Regions from separate parts of the Homo sapiens genome. Here regions 2, 3, 4, 5 and 6 are each linked to region 1. The links are contacts of gene promoters, found by promoter capture Hi-C in blood cells and fetal thymus (Javierre and others, 2016). All regions are on one chromosome and are shown on one strand. Each heading gives the region's core, a stretch centred on a gene start or on the middle of the fragment in contact. The rest is flanking DNA. Distances are from core to core; before and after follow the strand shown.

Region 1 (2,892 bases), core at 132-2,631:
TTTTTTTTGAGACGGGGTTTCACCATGTTGGCCACTGACCTCACCTCGTGATCCACCCGCCTCGGCCGCCCAAAGTGTTGGGATTACAGGCGTGAGCCACCGCGCCCGGCCAGCATTTCCTTTTAATGTTCATATCCAACAATGAGGAGAGATGAGGAGCAGGGAGTCTGGGGGATGGGCATGGAGAAGGTAAGGAAGAGGTGAAATGCAGGCAGTACATATGTACTTGATGGAAGACACGAAACATAAGGCCAGAGAAACTAGACGATCAGAAGAGGGACTGGAAGAGGAAAGAGAATGGTTGAAAACGAACTGAGAAACTAAAGGGAAGAAAGCGAGGAAACAGAGGGAAAGAGGAAATGCTTACATGGGGGCAAGTACTGTTCTGTCCTTACCACTAAAGATCTGGCACGTGATCTGGTCTCCCTCTCACTTGACTCCAGCCAGACTGATCTTCTTGCTCTTGAACATTCATTCCTTCATCTGGACCCTTCCACTTGCTGCTCTTCCTGCAGGCATCTCCCAGGCCTGTCCTTCCTTCCTTCAAGTGGTCTCCCTAACCACACTCTACATGAAATAGCACCTCCCTTACCCTTATTTTCCTTACTCTGCTTTATTTATGCTTGAAGCTCCAGTCACCATCAGACAGAATTTCTGTGTTTTGGCTACCGGCTGTTGGCTGACATATACCCGCTCCTAGAACGTAAACTCCACGGGAACAGGGACTTTGTTTTGTTCTCTGCCGTATCTCCAGCACCTACAACACTGCCTGACACCCTGCTGGGTGACCGATATACGCCGGATGGCTCAGGGAGTGGGTGCAGGTCGAGGAAAGGGTATAGCAAGAGGTATGTCCGGGAGGGATGTTTAGGGTGTGCTTTTAGTCCAACAGAAAAGCACTCTCCATCCTTTTTCTATTTCTCTCCTCTCCTTCTCCCTCCCTCCGCACTTCAGAGGTTGGGGAAAAGCTGCGGGAAAGCAGGAAATAAGGAAAAATCCTAAATTGCCCAGCTCGAATTCCAATGAAAAATTAATGAGCGAGGAAGACAGGGAGGCAGGGAATAAGTGCACATGCAAAAGTTAAGGAAGCCAGTGGAAAGCAAAGAAAAAGGCGAACAGACGTCACTCTCTCTGGTCACGCTCCCCGACTCCCCAGAGGACAGGCGAGGCGCTTCTGGCACACGCCCCCGTCGCCCCGCGGCCGCGCGGCGTCACCACCACTTCGGAGAAGGCCAGGCCCCTCTTCCCCCGCGGGCTTCCCCGCGCCCGCACCGCCGAGGCCCCGGCACGCGCCCGGGGGAGCCGCGAAGACGGCGGGGACTACAGCTCCCAGGATGCCGAGCACAGGCGCGCCTGCGCAGTGCGGTCGGAGGCGGCGGTCTGTTCTCCGCTGAGGAGGAGCGGGGCAGAGGAGGGAGGCAGCGGGTGAGAGTTCAGAGTTCAGCAGCAGCAGCCCGAGCCCATGATTCCCATATGCCCTGTAGTTTCTTTCACCTATGGTGAGTCTAATGTGGCCCGCGAGGCCTCTGCCCGGCCCCCTCCCTGGCCCCGGGCAGCGGGGAGCCGCGGGGGTTGGGGCAGGCTCCGGGGAGGAGGCGGCGGCCGCCACCCGGGCGTGCGAGTGAGTGAGGGAGTGCGAGGCGGGAGGGGGAGGCGGCGCGGCCGCGGCCTGGGCCCCGCCAGGGCTGCTCTCACGGCGCCTCTCTCTTTCTCTCCCTGCCCTCCCTCGGCGTCTCGGCTCCTCTGTGTCTCTTGTCCCGCCATGGGACCCGACTCTTCGTGCCCGCCGCAGTGCCCAGCCGGCTGGGGGAAGATGCCAAAATGGCGACCGGCAACTACTTTGGATTCACCCACAGCGGGGCGGCGGCGGCGGCGGCTGCGGCCCAATATAGGTAACGGCATCCTGCCTTCTCTCTGTTCGCCCCTTGCTCTCCCCTCGGTCCGGATCCTGTCGATGCGACGCCCCCGCGCCCGTCCCCAGCCATCCCAGAGCCCCGGCCCGCTGCAGGCCTGGCCCGGCCCAGCCCGGCGGCCTCTCCCGCCCCGCCCCGCCCCGCCCCGCCTTGCCCGGCCCGGCCCGGCCCGCGGCGGGGAGCGGCCCCCAGTAGGGGGGAGGTAGAGACGGCGGAGGTGTAGGGACGTGGAGGCCTCAGGGCCCTTCAGCGGCCCCTTAACTAAAATGGCCTCCTGCGGCCGCCGAGCGGAGCCGCCACCGCCGCCCGGCAGGCCCCCCAGTCCCCGCCTCCGCGCGTCCAGCCCCCACCTCCCATCTTCTTCCCACTTGGGGGATGGAGAGGGTGGCTGAAGGGACCTCACGGGGAGTGCCGTGTCGCAGGTCCACTGGCTTCTCGTGCGACGCCTCTCTGCGTCGTCGCCTGGTGCTTCAACCCCCGGAGCCCAGATAACGTGTCGTTGTCTCGGGTACCTTTTCCTCCGCCGTGGGGCTTCTTCCCCAGACGCTCCATCGCTAGCGAGTCCTGCTGACAAACTGCGGGTGTCACTGTGTTCATCGGGTTCCTTTAGTTTTTCCTGCAAGGAGAGAGATTCACATACCAACCACCTGTAAATTGTGTAGTTCTTAGACTGGAAAAGATGTGCGAAGTTTCTAGTGCTGATAAATGAGTGCCCAGCCTTGTTTGAGCTATGGAGTTTAGGCCCCAGGTGGGCCTGTCATTCTCCTTGCGGGGGTCTTTCCCCTGCGGGGAATGGTGGGGAGGGAAGAAGATGCAAGTGAGATTGTACTGAGTCATTGTAATGCACCGGATGAAATCCCTGCTTTAAGGGAAGCTCTCATTTCTGAAGTCTGTAGTTCATTATACATCTTACCAAAGACAAACACAACAGTGGATTGTTAAATTGTTACTTTTGAGTCAATCTGAGACTTTTGATTCA
Region 2 (2,892 bases), core at 144-2,643, 220 kb after region 1:
CGGCCTGGGTGATGGAGCAAGACCTCGTCTCAGAAAATTGGAAACTATTGACTAAGAGAAGTTTCTAGGTTTGCACTGAATTGTCTTTTGTACATACAGTGAATTGTTTTGCTGTTCTCCCCACTCCATATTAATGCAGGAGCCAGGTTGGTCTGTTAGGATGAACAAAGGTTGAGGGGAGGGCAGGATTCGTGCATCTGGGGGCCAAACACATGTTCCGTCTTGATTGCCTTAAGAGTTACTAGCGAGGTCAGTGTTAGGCTTGCAATAGGGATTTTAAAATACACTAACTAGTTCCTTAGCTACCTTCACATACATTCTATAGGCCTTCTTAAATTAGCACTAACCTCCACTTCCTTCTCTGCCCCATTGCCTCCCAAATATGCTATGGAGCTATTTTTGTTACCACGTTATAACGTGAATATTTATACAGTAGCCTCTTCAGGCTTTGTAATTTTCATTCCAAAAATGCCCGGTGTGATGCTTTACACTCTACAAAGTATGGTTTAAAGGCACAAGGTCATGGCCTTTGTCATAGCAGTTGAATGTGCATTGACATATTTTTCTATGATTTTTTAAAATTACAATAGAAAAATAAGCTGTTGTAACGTGTAAGGTCATGACAATTTTTGTATTTATATTTGAAATCAGATTTCTATAACTCGTATTTGTGTACAGAATTCTCAATGGATTTATATATTGTGAAATTTTTATCTGAGATTGGGATGTGGATTATGCTTAACAGTGAGAGCTGAAATGAGACCATTTACTTTGTTTAAAATGCTGTACTGTGCAAGTTTGGAAATGTAAATTAATTTACTGTATATAATATCTTGAGTTTGTTTATACCTCCAAGTTTTTACACTGAAGATAAACTAGCTTTAATTCAAAACTTTTTTTTTCTTTATAAGGGAATAAGCTGTTGAGCTAAACCTGTATACTTGTGCTTTTTATTTTCTGGATGCACAATGAAAGTTTATACTTGTATCTCACTGCATCATATCTGATTGCAGAAATTAAAGCACAATTTACAAGCAATACTGTACTTGGTGTGGTTGGTATAACACATGGAGTAATCCGTTTCATTCTTTCAGGAAATATTGAGCATGTACTGGGTACTTGGCAGGGCCAGTGGGGACAGCAGGGAAGAGTGCAGTTTGCGTTCTTGTGGGGCACAGGGAGGTTTGGTGGTGGGAACCGATAACCAAACAAATATTTATAATAGGTGATTTGCAGTTACATGTATATCACAGCACTATTCACAATAGCAAAGACATGGAATCAACCCAGGTGCCCATCAGTGATGGATTGGATCAGGAAAATGTGGTACATATACACCATGGGATACTATACAGCTATAAAAAAGAATGGAATCACGTCCTTTGCGGCAACATGGATGCAGCTGGAGTCCATTATCCTAAGTGAATTAATGCAGAAACAGAAAACCAAATACTGAATGTTCTCATAAGTGGGAGCTAAACATTGGGTATTGGACGTAAAGATAAGAACAACAGACACGGGACTCAAAATGGGGAGGGAGTCAGGGAAGGGTTGAAAAACCACCTATTGGGTACTGTGTTCACCATTTGAGTGATGGGTTCAATTGAAGCCCAAACTTCAGCATCACGCAATATACCCATGTAATAAACCTGCACATGTACCCTCTGAATCTAAGGTAAAAATAATAAAAAATCTAGCTGACACTGTGGCTCACGCCTGTAATACCAGCACTTTGGGAGGCCGAGGCGGGCGGATCACCTGAAGTGTCGGGAGTTCAAGACCAGCCTGGCAACGTGGTGAAACCCTGTCTCTACTAAAAATACAAAATTAGCTGGGTGTGGTGGCGCATGCCTGTGATCCCAGCTACTTGGGAGGATGAGGCAGGAGAATCGCTTGAACCTGAGAGGTGGAGGTTGCAGTGAGCCAAGATAGCACCACGGCACTCCAGCCTGGGCAACAGAGGAGGGCTCTGTCTGAAAAGAAAAAAAAATCCCAGGTGATGATAAAATGCTGAAGAAAAAATAGGGTGGGGATAGGGTGATTAAAAGAAAAGAGTTTTTAACCCTGAAATTAAATATTATTACCTCTCTGCTTTTTGTGGGGATCTGTAAAATTAGAATTCTGTTACTCTGGAATAAAAATTGCTGGAAGAGATCTGAGTACATTTAAACCATGAAAGATAGAAAAAGGCTTTGTTTTTGCTTTCAGAGAGGTTAAGTGAGCGAGCACAGGGTAAGATGGCTTATGAGAGTAGGATTTGTTTCTAATTCGTTTTAATACTTAACTAGATTGAGACATAGCACTTTGTATGTTCTGAGAAACAAGGCTCATATTTCTTTGACCTTTCCTACCTACAGAGGAGGCTTCCCACTCTGCTGCTTGTCCCCATCCCCCTTTCCTATCTGGCCAGCACACTATGTCCAGAAAGCTAGCTCTGAGACACCCCTGGAATTTAATAAGCTCTCATGGATGCCACGTGCTTTTCAGATGTTTTGCTTCTTTGGTGTTTGTATTAAATTCCCAAGTAGTAGTTGTGACCGTAGAGTTTAGCAGCTTCTCGTCTTATTTTCCACATTTGTTTAGCTCTTGTACTTTTGGTGGACTTAGCTGTCTCTCACTCTTGATTTTGCTTGTTCCTTGATGTCCAGGTGAGGGCATGGAGGGACTTGGGGAGTAAAGAGTGGAATGTTCTCCGTCCAGTGTGAAACAGGGTGGGGGGTCGGCTCCTGTTGGGAACTAGCCCCTGTGCCTTCACGTCCCCTATCATTAAGGGAGTTGGAGGCAGAGGGGGGCCTGTCTATAGCCTGTTTTCTGGCCAGGCGCAGTGGCTCACACCTGTAATCCAGCACTTTGGGAGGCTGATCACAAGGTCAGGAGATCAAGACCATCCTG
Region 3 (2,892 bases), core at 202-2,701, 200 kb after region 1:
GTGTTTTAAGAAAGTTGGCCAACGCTTTTGTAGAAAAATGCCCAGGAAGACTTCATCAGAGGGTCCTTCTCTACTGCTCATTCCTCCTATCAAACAAGGGCAATTTTGCAAGAGTTTTGATGGGAACTCATTAGGCATCTACCTTAAAAGTCTGATTTGGCTTCTTCTGACTTCATTTTCTAATCTTAAAAAATCCTTAAAGGGGGCTGGGCGTAGTAGCTCACGTGTATAATTGCAGCACTTTGGGAGGCCGAGGTGGGCGGATCACCAGAGGTCAGGAATTCAAGACCAGCCTAGCCAACATGGTGAAACCCCATCTCTACTAAAAATACAAAAATTAGCCAGGCATGGTGGTGGGCACCTGTAATGCCAGCTACTCCGGAGGCTGAGACAGAAGAATCGCTTGAACCCGGGAGGCAGAGGTTGCAGTGAGCTGAGATTGTGCCATTGCACATTGCGCTCCAGCCTGGGTGACAAGAGCAAAACTCCATCTCAAAAAAAACACAAAAATCCTTGAAGGGAACACATTTTTTTTTTTCAGTTAATAATGTAAAATAGACTGCAATGACATGGTTAAATTCCCAGGACCCTCAGTTCTTTAGAGGGGGTTGAGAGTGTCTTAAACTTGATGGAGCTTATGTTGAGAAATAAAGTTTATATTTTTTATTTTCATCTTTTAATTCCATGTTTTCACATACTTTTTGAAGTCCCCTTGTATATATTAACTATGCTAGTCGTTGGTGATAAAGAGAAATATAACACCAAGAGCTTATATTCTTGCAGGGGAAACAGCAATGTATGACTCTTAACTCAAACTAAAACATTACAATACATGTTTACTATTTAATCAAGGACACTCATTCTAGTTTTATTTCAGTCACTCAGGACTTTCAGGGATATCTGTCTTTTATTGATTTGAGTTTGCAACTTTTTTTTTCTTTTTTTCTTGAGATGGAGTTCTGTTCTTGTTGCCCAGGCTGGAGTGCAATGGTGCGATCTTAGCTCACTGTAACCTCCGCCACCCTGGTTCAAGCAATTCTCCTGCCTCAGCCTCCCAAGTGGCTGGGATTACAGGCATGGGCCACCACCCCCAGCTAATTTTTTTGTATTTTAGTAGAGACGGGGTTTCTCTGTGTTGGTCAGGCTGGTCTCAAACTTCTGACCTCAGGTGACGCGCCCACCTCCGCCTCCCAAAGTGCAGGGATTACAGGCGTGAGCCACCACATCTGGCCTTTTTTTTTTTTTTTCTTTTCATTTTTTAGAAACAGGGTCTCACTCTGTTGCCAAGGCTAGGGTGCAGTGGCGCCACCATAGCTCACTGCAGCCTCAAACTCCTGGCCTCAAGTGATCTTCCTGCTTCTGGGATTATAGTGCTGGGATTATAGGCATGAGCCACAGCACCCAGCCTGAGTTTGCAGCTTTTAAATATATTGGATTTCTGTAAGATTTAAGGTTCTCTGTTTTATAAGGCATGTAGGAGGAGTCATGTCATGGTATGCTGGGTGGACGAACTTGTGCATTGAGATTCTAATGAAAGTTAAGCCTGACCCTTAGGCTTCCGTGGCATCAGGATGGATCCAGTTGCATTTTCCACTTCTAGAATTAACAGCCTGGATGTCAACTATTTCTGCCTAAAGCATGTTACTCTCTGTCGACCTACAGGATGAACCATGGCTTTGTGTATGCATTGTAGGAATTTCTTATTTCAGCAATAAAGATCTCTTTTTGACCACCACAATCTTCTAGGGGCCTACAGCTCAGAAACCATTTCAGCTGAAGTTTTGAAATGACCCTTACTCAAAATAGAGTCCTGTGCCTGGATTCTGCAGTTTGAGTCAGGACTGTTAATCTGAATGACACAGTTGAGGAGCACAGGATTTTTGTGGCAAGTATGTCAGTGAACAATGACCTGACGTCTTTACTCCTTTTTCTTTTTTCAGATAACAGTACTGAATTTTGGGACACAGATATAAAATGGTTTTCTCTGTTGGAAAGTAGCAGCTGGCTTGACATAATCAGGTATTTCAAACCATTGTTTTACTCATGAATTTTGTAATTGTATAACTCAGGGTAGTAGATCAAACCGACAAATAATTTAACTGTTTGATATTTGACAGTTAAATATTCTTAGATCACATGTTCTACAGCTAGATTTTATATTTGCTACTTATTTCTGTGCACATTTGATAGGAATTTATGAACATGCCACCTGCTTACAAGGAGATGTACTCTACAGACAAGGCATTGAAAAAACACAGAAAGAGTGTGACAACCCAGAATTATTATTGAGGCAGCAGTGCTGGCCTCCAGGGAGGAAACTGAGGGTGAGAACAGGAGTGATACTGACTTTTCACTGAATACCTTTTTTAATCTTGTGTCTTACGCATATATTATCTGTGTTTTTAAAAACCATGATTAATGTCAGTTATTTTTGGTTTGGGAGTTAGGTTGAGAGTTCCAGAAAACAGTTATATTGCCTTTCCTACTTTCTATATTGAATAGCTCTTCTCTGTTGCCATTAAATAGAGGATATGGCAGAGAAAGGTGCAAAACAGAAATGATGATCAGGATGACAGAGTAGCTCTAATGCTAGGCTACATTTCAGGAGGGAGAGCAATGCTTCCTACTGCCTCACACACATTCTCCCTCCATTCTGAAGTGAGTACTGCGGAAAGGAGCCTTGGCCCTCCAGACACTGAACTGTGCTCCAGACATCCTGCTACACGTCTCATAATTTGAATATATAATGGCAGACAGGGATAAATGTTATGGAAGCAAAGAACCCTTCTTTGTGTGGGGTGGGCAGAGAAGGGTGAGCATCTCTAGCCAGATGAAGAGTCGGGGTGTGGGAAGGGAAGGTGGCTGGGGGGTAGGAGAGGACACGTCTGCAAG
Region 4 (2,892 bases), core at 101-2,600, 180 kb after region 1:
TCTACTAAAAATACAAAAATTAGCCATATGTGGTGGTGCGTTCCTGTAGTCCCAGCTACTCATGAGGCTAAGGCGGGAGAATCACTTTAACCTGGCAGGCGGAGGTTGCAGTAAGCCAAGATGGCACCACTGGCCACTGCACTCCAGCAGGGGCAGTAGAGCAAGACTCCATCTCAAAAAAAAAAAAAAAAGAGACTCAGTCATAATTTTGGATTAATGACAAAAAATGGAACAAGGTTAGGATTAAGCAATCAATTCATTCTGCTTGGATAAAAATGGGCTTAGTGGAGGAAACCAAAACCTAAGGAGGGACTTTCACATAATAAAAGCACCAGTGCTTCATGGAAAGATTTTATTGTCTTTTACATTTTGTTCTCTTAGTCACTGATCCCAAGAACCATACCGTAATGTTTGACACACTTAAGGACTGGTGTTGGGAACTGGAACGGACCAAAGGCAACATGAAGTACAAAGCAGTGAGTGTCAACGAAGGCTATAAAGTCTGTGAGAGGTAAGCTTTCCATGCTGGGCACATGCTGTACAATTCACCCATTAAAAGTGTACAGTGTTTTTTAGTATATTCACAGGGTTGTGCAGTCATCACCACAGTCAATTTAGAACATTTTCATCCTCCCAAAAAGAAACTCCATACCCATTGGCTGTCACTCCCCATTTTCCCCGAATACCTCTCTTTCTTCCCCAGTCCTAGACAACCACTAATCTACTTTCTATCACTATAGACTTGCCTGTTGTGAACATTTCATATAAATGGAATCATATCATATGTGATCTTTTATGACTTGGTTCTTTCACTTAGCATGATGTTTTCAAAGTCTGTTTATTTTGCAGCTTGTATCAGAATCTCATTCTTTTTTATTGCCAAGTAATGTTCCATAATGTGGATATAGCACATTTAATTTATCCATCTATTAGTTGATGGACTATTGGATTATTTTCACTTTTTGGCTCTTTGAATAATGTTTTTTGGTTTTTTGTTTTTGTTTTTGTTTTTGTTTGAGACAGGGTCTTGCTCCGACACCTATGCTGCACCATGCTGGAGTGCAGTGGTGCCATCTCGGCTCACTGCAACCTCCGTCTCGGCTCAAGTGATTCTCCCACCTCAGCCTCCTGAGTAGCTGGGACCACAGGCGTGCACCACCATGCCTGTCTAATTTTTCTGCTTTTTGTAGAGATGGGGTTTCACCATGTTGCCCAGGCTGGTTTTGAACTCCTGGGCTCAAGCGATCCTCTCACCTCGGCCTTCCAAACTTCTAGGATTACAGGCATGAGCCATCATGCCTGGCCATGAATAATATTGATATGAACATTCAATTATAAATTTTTGTGTAGATGTATGTTTTTATTTTTCTTGGGTATATTACCTAGAAGTGGACTGCCAGATCCTGTGGAAATTTGTGTTTACCCTTTTGAGGCACTCACAGACTTTTTCACAGAGACTGTTCCATTTTATATTCCTACCAACAGTGTATGAGAGTTTCTTCCTCCACATCAATACTAGCTTTTTATTATGTACTTATTTATTATTCATTTTAAGATGGGGTCTCTCTCTGTCCCCCAGGCTGGAGTGCAGTGGCGTGATCTCGGTCCACTGTAAGCTCCGCCTCCTGGGTTCACGCCATTCTCCTGCCTCAGCCTCCTGAGTAGCTTGGACTACAGGCACCTGCCGCCACGCCTGGCTAATTTTTTGTGTTTTTAGTAGAGACAGGGTTTCACCCTGTTAGCCAGGATGGTCTTGATCTCCTGACCTTGTGATCTGCCCGCCTCGGCCTCCCAAAGTGCTGGGATTACAGGTGTGAGCCATTGCGCCCGGCCTTTTTCTTCCCTTTTATTGAGCACTTCTTTTATTCATTCACCAAAAATTTTTGACTGCCTTCCATTTGCTTGGCAGTGTCCTAGCTATTAGAGATGGCAGCAGTCAACAGGGCACCTGAAAACCTCTGCCCTCTTGGAGCTATCATTCTGGAGGGAGGAAGATGATGGTAGAATAAAGAAGTAAATTATAGCATGTTAATAGATAAGTGCTATGGAGAAAATCAGATCCAGCACATGGTTAGGGAGTGCTGGAGGTGATGGTGGGAGGGTTGGTCAGGAAGGTTTTACATGGTGGAAGTAAGGTTTTGCATGGTGGCTTGTAAGCATAGTCGTAAAGGAAGTGAAAGCTTGAGTCAGAGGACACCCGAGGGAGGAGCATTCCAGGTGGAGGGAGGAGTAAGAGCAAAGGCCTGGGGGAGGAACAGCAAGGTGCCCAGGGATGGGGGAGGAGCAAGCTAGGGAGAGGAGTGGGAGATGATGGGCCCAGAGACTTTGATGGGAGGACAGTGAGAGGGAGGCTGAGTAGAAGCAGACATGATCTGACCTACATGTTTTTTTGAGACTGAGTCTCACTCTGTCACCCAGGCTGAAGTGCAGTGGTGCTATCTCGGCTCACCGCAACCTCTGCCTCCTGGGTTCAAGTGATTCTCCTGCCTCAGCCTCTTGAGTAGCTGGGATTACAGGCGCCTGCCACCACGCCCCACTAATTTTTGTATTTTTAGTAGAGATGGGGTTTCACAATGTTGGCCAGGCTGGTCTTGAACTCCTGACCTCAAGTGATCTGCCTGCCTCAGCCTCCCAAAGTGCTGGGATTACACGCGTGAGCCACTGCGCCTGGCTGACCTACATTTTTAAAGCATGACTGTATAATCTGTTTTCAGAAACTTGAATGTTATCATTTTGGAACATACTCCCTAACACCCTGCTAACAGATTCATACAACTTTGTATTTTTGTAGAGCTCTTTGTATCATGGTTCTGATAGGCCTCTTCAGTAATCAGTTTTGATTCTGATCACTCTCAGTATTTATCAGGTTGCTGCCACTGGTCCCCCTCCCCC
Region 5 (2,892 bases), core at 149-2,648, 160 kb after region 1:
TGCAGTGGCACATTCTTGGCTCACTGCAACCTCCGTCTCCCAGGTTCAAGGAATTCTCCTGCCTCAGCCTCCCAAGTAGCTGGGATTACTGGTGTGTGCCACCACACCCGGCTAATTTTTGTATTTTTAGTAGAGACGGGGTTTCACCATGTTGGCCAGGCTGGTCTCAAACTCCTGACCTCAAGTGATCCACCTACCTCGGCCTCCCAAAGTGCTGGGATTACAGGCGTGAGCCACTGTGCCTGGCCCATGCTTCTGTTCTAATTGAATTTAAGCCCCACTGAGATATTCTAGTTTAGAAAACCTGGACGTGCTGTGATCCTGGTGCCAGCAGTTTTTGCCTTTCCTTTGTGCCATAATGGCAAGCTTTGTTCAAATTCAAATGGAGCAGCAAGAGGTGGTATACAAAGCACAAAGACCATTTTTAACTGATGCATTTGTTGAAAATTTCCATAATTTTCAGAGTTAGTTTTTTAAGAAAAGTCTGTCAGCCTAACCAGTAGAACCAGTTCTGCTTGAGTATTAAAGAACTATACCTTTTCTACCTTTTTGCTGCACATTGAACATGATAGTTAGTGGAATAAGTGAGGAATGTTACCTCGTGTTTCACAGCTGCAGAAGTAAGGTTGTCAACATCTACTAACTAGGTAGTTGGTAGGGAGTGTCAGAGTTAAAGGCGCAGAGGCTTAAGGGCAACTCTAGACCCTTCTGTAAAACTAGTTTATGGTTTAAGAAGCTCCCACCACCCCAAAGAATAGGGATAGTACACAGGCAGCTCTCACTGGATGCTGATTGAATTGGCTGTTAGATCCTGGGATGTGCTGGGCCTATCTACTGCTCTCTCTGAAAAGGCTTCACAAGTAATAGTCTTTCCATTAAGCTTTAGAGGAATCCTCCGTTTTTCAGTATATTGCAATATGAGTAGAGCATTTGGTGATGCCATCCATATTAGTGGCTAAGCCTAGCTATTGTTTCTTTTCTATTCTTTTTTTTTTTTTTTTTTTTTGAGACAGGGTCTTGTTCTGTCACCCAGGCTGGAGTACAGTGGTGCAATCATAGCTCACTGCAGCCTTGACCTCCCAGGCTGAGGTGATTCTCCCGCCCCAGCCTTCTGAGTAACTGGGACTACAGGCACATGCCACCATGCCTGGCTAATTAAAAAAAAAAAAAATTTTTTTTTGTGGAAATGGGGTTTGGCCATGTTGCCCAGGCTAGTCTCGAATTCTTAAGCTCAAGTGATCCGGTCCATCCACCTTGGCCTCCAACAGTGCTGTGATTACAGGCATAAGCCACCGCGCCTGGCCAAGATTATATACTCTTGAAAGGAAGCAAGAATTGCTCAGGCATACATACCAGTGTTATTCATGGTTAGAGCCTTTCCTGGAGTCCCATTGAACTCTTGAGTCAGTTGGCTTGAAAATTAGAGACTCATGCCTCAGAGGACCCAGTGGAGTGAGTCATAAGAGGTAACACTTTCAGTAGGTGTTGAGGAGCCTCAAGGTTCTTCTCCATGCAGCTGGCCAGTGTCACTTAGGTTGGGTGTAGGTGTCTTTTGTTGTTGTTTTCCCTTTAGCTTCCCTTGGCCTCTCTATAACTCTCATTCGAGGCTTTCCCTGGTCACTTTGTGTTGCTCGCTTTTACCTGGTTTCAGGTGGATCTAGCAGGTACTTCACTGATCATTCTGCCTTGTTTTTCCTTTTTCCTTTCATTCCTTCTTTCCACATGACAGTGTGGCATTGAATAAGAATGCAGACTGGGCCAGGAACGCAGACTGCGCACAGGGTTTGACTTTCACCTGTGCCACATACTAGCAGGGTGTCTTCATCTGTAAAATGGAGACAATCATGGGTATAATAACTCTATTGCAAAGGTTTGCTGTGAGGATTAAATGAGTTAATAAATAAATACAAAGCTTTTTAGACAGTAGCTGGCACTTAGAGCCCAAGAAATGTTTGTTATTATTCACTTCTCAACCTCAGTAAGGGCTGGCCCTGTACCCACTTTGGAAAAAGGAACAGTAGACTTTGGCGTTCACAGATTGGACATCTGTGATGTCTACAGTCCACAAGTGACTCTTGGTCACAGTGTAGTAATTTGTAATGCCACTAAGAAAGAGATTATATTTACTCATTCAATTGTAAAGTTTGGACAGCCTTTAATCACTCACCCAACAAATTTGCCAATGAAAACAACAGCTTATACACATTCAGAATACAGCATGGTTAGGAGTAGGATGCACATAGGGGAATTTCAGGGGAACCCACTCCAAGATCCACATGTAGGACTCAGCACATCCAGATACGGGTGCTCTCGTACCTTGTTGGTATCCACCTCTGCTCTCCTTCATTCAGCTATGTTCATTCTCCTGTGATCAACAAGCAAAGAATGGTAAATCCGTTTTCTCTTAAGAATATTGAAATATATTAGCTCCATATTTGTCAGTTCTTTCTTTGTTTTTCTTGTGGAGTTCAAAAAGCGATTGTGAAATATAGGGATGAAGAGACTACAGACATTGCCAGTGAATACTCTCCGTTCCGTCCTTCCTACCCACCCAAACAGGTAACTTGTGAAAATCAAATTCAAAGAAAAACTCCAATTAAACTTATTTTTGAGGCAAGGATTTCTTTATGATTCTTATTTGTATACCCTGATTTTTTGGAGTCCTCTAGGTTATTTCTCTTCTTGGGACTGGTTTGGATTTTTGTTTGAGGGGGGAAGCAGTTGATAGTGGTGATGATGGTTATTTGTTTTTTACCTGAGTTGATTATCTGTAAGACTTGCATAGTGTATATTTATAATTTTTTTGAAGTGTTAACCAGAAAGGATTAGATACTCATGATGATTTTTATTTTTTATTTTATTTATTTATTTATTTATTTATTTATTTATTTA
Region 6 (2,892 bases), core at 140-2,639, 130 kb before region 1:
GCCTCCCAAGTACCTGGGATTACAGGCACCTGCCACCACGCCTGGCTAATTTTTTTTTTTTTTTTGTATTTTTAGTAGAGATGGGGTTTCACCATGTTGGCCAGGCTGGTCTCGAACTCCTGACCTCAGGTGATCTGCCCGCCTTGGCCTCCCAAAGTGCTGGGATTACAGGCGTGAGCCACTGCGCCCAGCCATTTTTGTTTGTTTGTTTTCTTATTTACCAGGGATGCTGTTAAATAGGATAGTTTTCTAATAAAACTTGCCCATTTTAAACAATCTATATGAATTCACATTTCTTTAGGTCATTTATGTAATTTTTATTAATTCTTCAGTATTCTGACTAGGAGCTCACCTATAAAGCCAAATTAGAAGCCTTAATTCAATAGTGTAAATATCTTTGTGTCAATTCCACACAGAAAGCAGAGATTTTGTCCTCATAACATGTTATCAAGGAGTTAATGCTAAATCCAAGCAGAACCCGAGATGTGCAGAAAGGATGCTGCTATCCATGGTGATTTAAGGAGAAAGCAGGTAGAACTAGTAAATGTGTCTCAAAAGTGATTCTCCAAGAGGGACTGGGAGAGTCTTGCCTTGTGAAAAGACACTTAGAGAATGCATAGCCAGATCTCTGGGTCCTTTGGTGCAAAGTCCACTGGGCATTTACACTTCTGATTTAGAAAATCAATCAACTGCCAAACTTATCTACTATGTGCGATCACTGAGCTTGACTTTAGGAACAAAGAAATCCAAGGGGGAGTTGGCAGCATCTTCAGAGCACCTCCTATATTCCGGGCACTTATGCATGTCATCTCATTGTATTCACATTAAGCCTGGGAGAGAGGTGTTTTATTCCATTATAGAAAGGAAGAAACTGTACTCAGATTGGTGAAGGGAGTTACCTGAGTTAGTTGGTTGAATTGTAACCCCCCTCAAAAAATCTACCCAAGTCCTAACCCCAGTACCTGTGATTGTGACTACATTTGAAAATAGGGTCTTTGCAGATGTAATCACATTATGACAAAGTCATACTAAATTAGGATGGGCTTCAAATACAGTGACCTGTGTCTTTACCAGAGAAAGCAGAAAGACACTTGGATGCATCTTACAAGCCGAGGAACACCAAGGATTGCGGGCAGGCACCAGAAACTAGGCAGAGGCAAGGGAGGACTCTTCCCTAAAGCTTTCAGGAGGAGCATGGCCCTCCCGTTGCCTTGATTTTCGACTTCTACCCTCCAGAACTTTAAGATAATAAATTTCTGTTGATTGATTGATTGATTTTTTGAGACAGAATCTTGTTCTAGTCGCCCAGGCTGGAGTTCAGTGGCATGATCTCGCCTCACTGCAATCTCTGCCTCCTAGGTTCAAGCAGTCAGTTCTCCTGTCAGCCTCACAAGTAGCTGGGATTACAGGCGTCTGCCACCACACTTGGCTAATTTTTGCATTTTTAGTAGAGACAGGGTTTTACCATGTTGGCCAGGCTGGTCTCAAACTCCTGACCTCAAGTGATCCACCTACCTCAGCCTCCCAAAGTGCTGGAATTACAGGCATGAGCCACCATGCCTGGCCAAATTTCTGTTGATTTAAACTACGAAGCTTGTGACAATTTATTACAGTCTTAGGACACAAAGATACCAGTGTCACACAGCGGCTAAGTAGCAGTGCTGGAATTTGATCCCAGTTGTTTGCTTTGCAAATACCAAACATAACCCATATACCATGATATCAAGGGGGGATTTTGTTGCCACATGATTTCTGAACCTATTCAAGGCTGTCCTAGACATTATGAGCCAAGGAGAAGTGGTAAACTGCCTGAATTCAACCTAAGAGTTACAGATGCCCAAGCTGCATTCTCTCAGAGAACTGATACATGGGGAGCTGCATAGAGGCATGGAAAGGTTGCTAAAGAGCTGGGTCCAGAGACCTACAGTGATATTGACCATAACAGGGCAAGGGCAAGTCATTTTACCTCCCTGGGTCTCAGTTTCCTGTTCCCATCAGAGGTCAGGTTAAATATTCCATGGGATCCCAGACAACTGTGTAACCAGTTGGCTGGCCCACCCCAGACCTTTTTAAAAAACTTTTTGGACAGGCGCAGTGGCTCATGCCTGTAATCCCAGCACTTTGGGAGGCCGAGGTGGGTGGATCACAAGATCAGGAGTTCCAGACCAGCCTGCCCAACATAGTGAAACCCCATCTCCACTAAAAAAATATAAAAATTAGCCGGGCATGGTGGTGTGTGCCTGTAATCCCAGCTACTTGGGAGGCTGAGGCAGGAGAATTGCTTGAATCCGGGAGGCAGAGGTTGCAGTGAGTTGAGATCGCACTACTACACTCCAGCCTAGGCAACAGAGCAAGTCTCCGTCTCAAAAAAAAAAAAAATTCAATAGCTGTAAGGGTTCAGTGGTTTTTGGCTACACAGATGAATTGTATAGTGGTGAAGTCTGAGCTTTTAGTGTACCTGTCACCTGAATAATGTACATTGAACCCAATAGTGAAACATTTTAATTTCTACTTTTCTTTCTTTCTTTGGTCAGTAAGTTTTATTTTAATTTTTTTTTAATGTTTTGCCATTGGATTAGTTACATCTCCATTTAAATGTTTCTTCTTGTATCTATTCATTTTCAGGCATTAGAAGTTAAAATAATGGAAATAGGGCTGGGAATGGTGGCTCATGCCTGTAATCCCAGCACTTTGGGAGGCAGAGGAGAGTGGATCACTTGAGCCCAGGAGTTTGAGACCAGCCTGAGCAACAAAGTGAAACCCCCATCTCTACAAAAAATAGAAAAATTAGCCGGCCATGGTGGCATGTGCTTGTAGTCCCAACTACTCGGGAGGCTGAGGTGGGAGGATGACTTGAGCCAAGGAGGTCAAGGCCTGCAGTGAGCTGTAATT

What was found. Contacts are between HindIII fragments. The CHiCAGO score rates a contact against its expected background, and 5 or more counts as called.
Region 2: a contact is called between a fragment that was not itself captured here and the fragment with the promoter of ZFR in region 1, in 5 of 17 cell types (activated CD4 T cells, total B cells, naive B cells and 2 more). The highest score is 7.4, in activated CD4 T cells.
Region 3: a fragment that was not itself captured here is called in contact with the fragment with the promoter of ZFR in region 1 in 5 of 17 cell types (fetal thymus, total B cells, activated CD4 T cells and 2 more); the score reaches 8.2 in fetal thymus.
Region 4: a fragment that was not itself captured here is called in contact with the fragment with the promoter of ZFR in region 1 in 3 of 17 cell types (total B cells, non-activated CD4 T cells and naive B cells); the score reaches 6.8 in total B cells.
Region 5: a contact is called between a fragment that was not itself captured here and the fragment with the promoter of ZFR in region 1, in 2 of 17 cell types (total B cells and naive B cells). The highest score is 5.9, in total B cells.
Region 6: a fragment that was not itself captured here is called in contact with the fragment with the promoter of ZFR in region 1 in 6 of 17 cell types (total B cells, total CD8 T cells, naive B cells and 3 more); the score reaches 8.5 in total B cells.

Annotation. Positions count from the first base shown.
Region 1 is chr5:32,443,229-32,446,120 of GRCh38, reverse strand. ZFR (zinc finger RNA binding protein) reads left to right here and starts at 1,381. Exons shown (of 20, transcript NM_016107.5): 1 at 1,381-1,499; 2 at 1,793-1,892. The coding sequence starts at 1,463. RefSeq lists silencers at 1,079-1,768, 1,999-2,338 and an enhancer at 1,730-2,287. The HindIII fragment of the contact is 7,512 bases long and covers 1-2,892 here.
Region 2 is chr5:32,225,153-32,228,044 of GRCh38, reverse strand. It overlaps MTMR12 (myotubularin related protein 12), which reads left to right. Exons shown (of 16, transcript NM_001040446.3): 16 at 1-1,038. Among named protein-coding and RNA genes, the nearest start is that of GOLPH3, 52 kb to the right of the region's middle. The HindIII fragment of the contact is 4,467 bases long and covers 1-2,892 here.
Region 3 is chr5:32,242,648-32,245,539 of GRCh38, reverse strand. It overlaps MTMR12 (myotubularin related protein 12), which reads left to right. Exons shown (of 16, transcript NM_001040446.3): 11 at 1,941-2,019. Among named protein-coding and RNA genes, the nearest start is that of MTMR12, 69 kb to the left of the region's middle. The HindIII fragment of the contact is 5,337 bases long and covers 1-2,892 here.
Region 4 is chr5:32,260,732-32,263,623 of GRCh38, reverse strand. It overlaps MTMR12 (myotubularin related protein 12), which reads left to right. Exons shown (of 16, transcript NM_001040446.3): 7 at 382-511. Among named protein-coding and RNA genes, the nearest start is that of MTMR12, 51 kb to the left of the region's middle. RefSeq lists an enhancer at 2,205-2,304. The HindIII fragment of the contact is 1,664 bases long and covers 519-2,182 here.
Region 5 is chr5:32,282,432-32,285,323 of GRCh38, reverse strand. The region is part of intron 1 of MTMR12 (myotubularin related protein 12); the gene reads left to right. Among named protein-coding and RNA genes, the nearest start is that of MTMR12, 29 kb to the left of the region's middle. The HindIII fragment of the contact is 1,032 bases long and covers 883-1,914 here.
Region 6 is chr5:32,573,629-32,576,520 of GRCh38, reverse strand. No RefSeq gene overlaps it. Among named protein-coding and RNA genes, the nearest start is that of SUB1, 10 kb to the left of the region's middle. The HindIII fragment of the contact is 413 bases long and covers 1,183-1,595 here.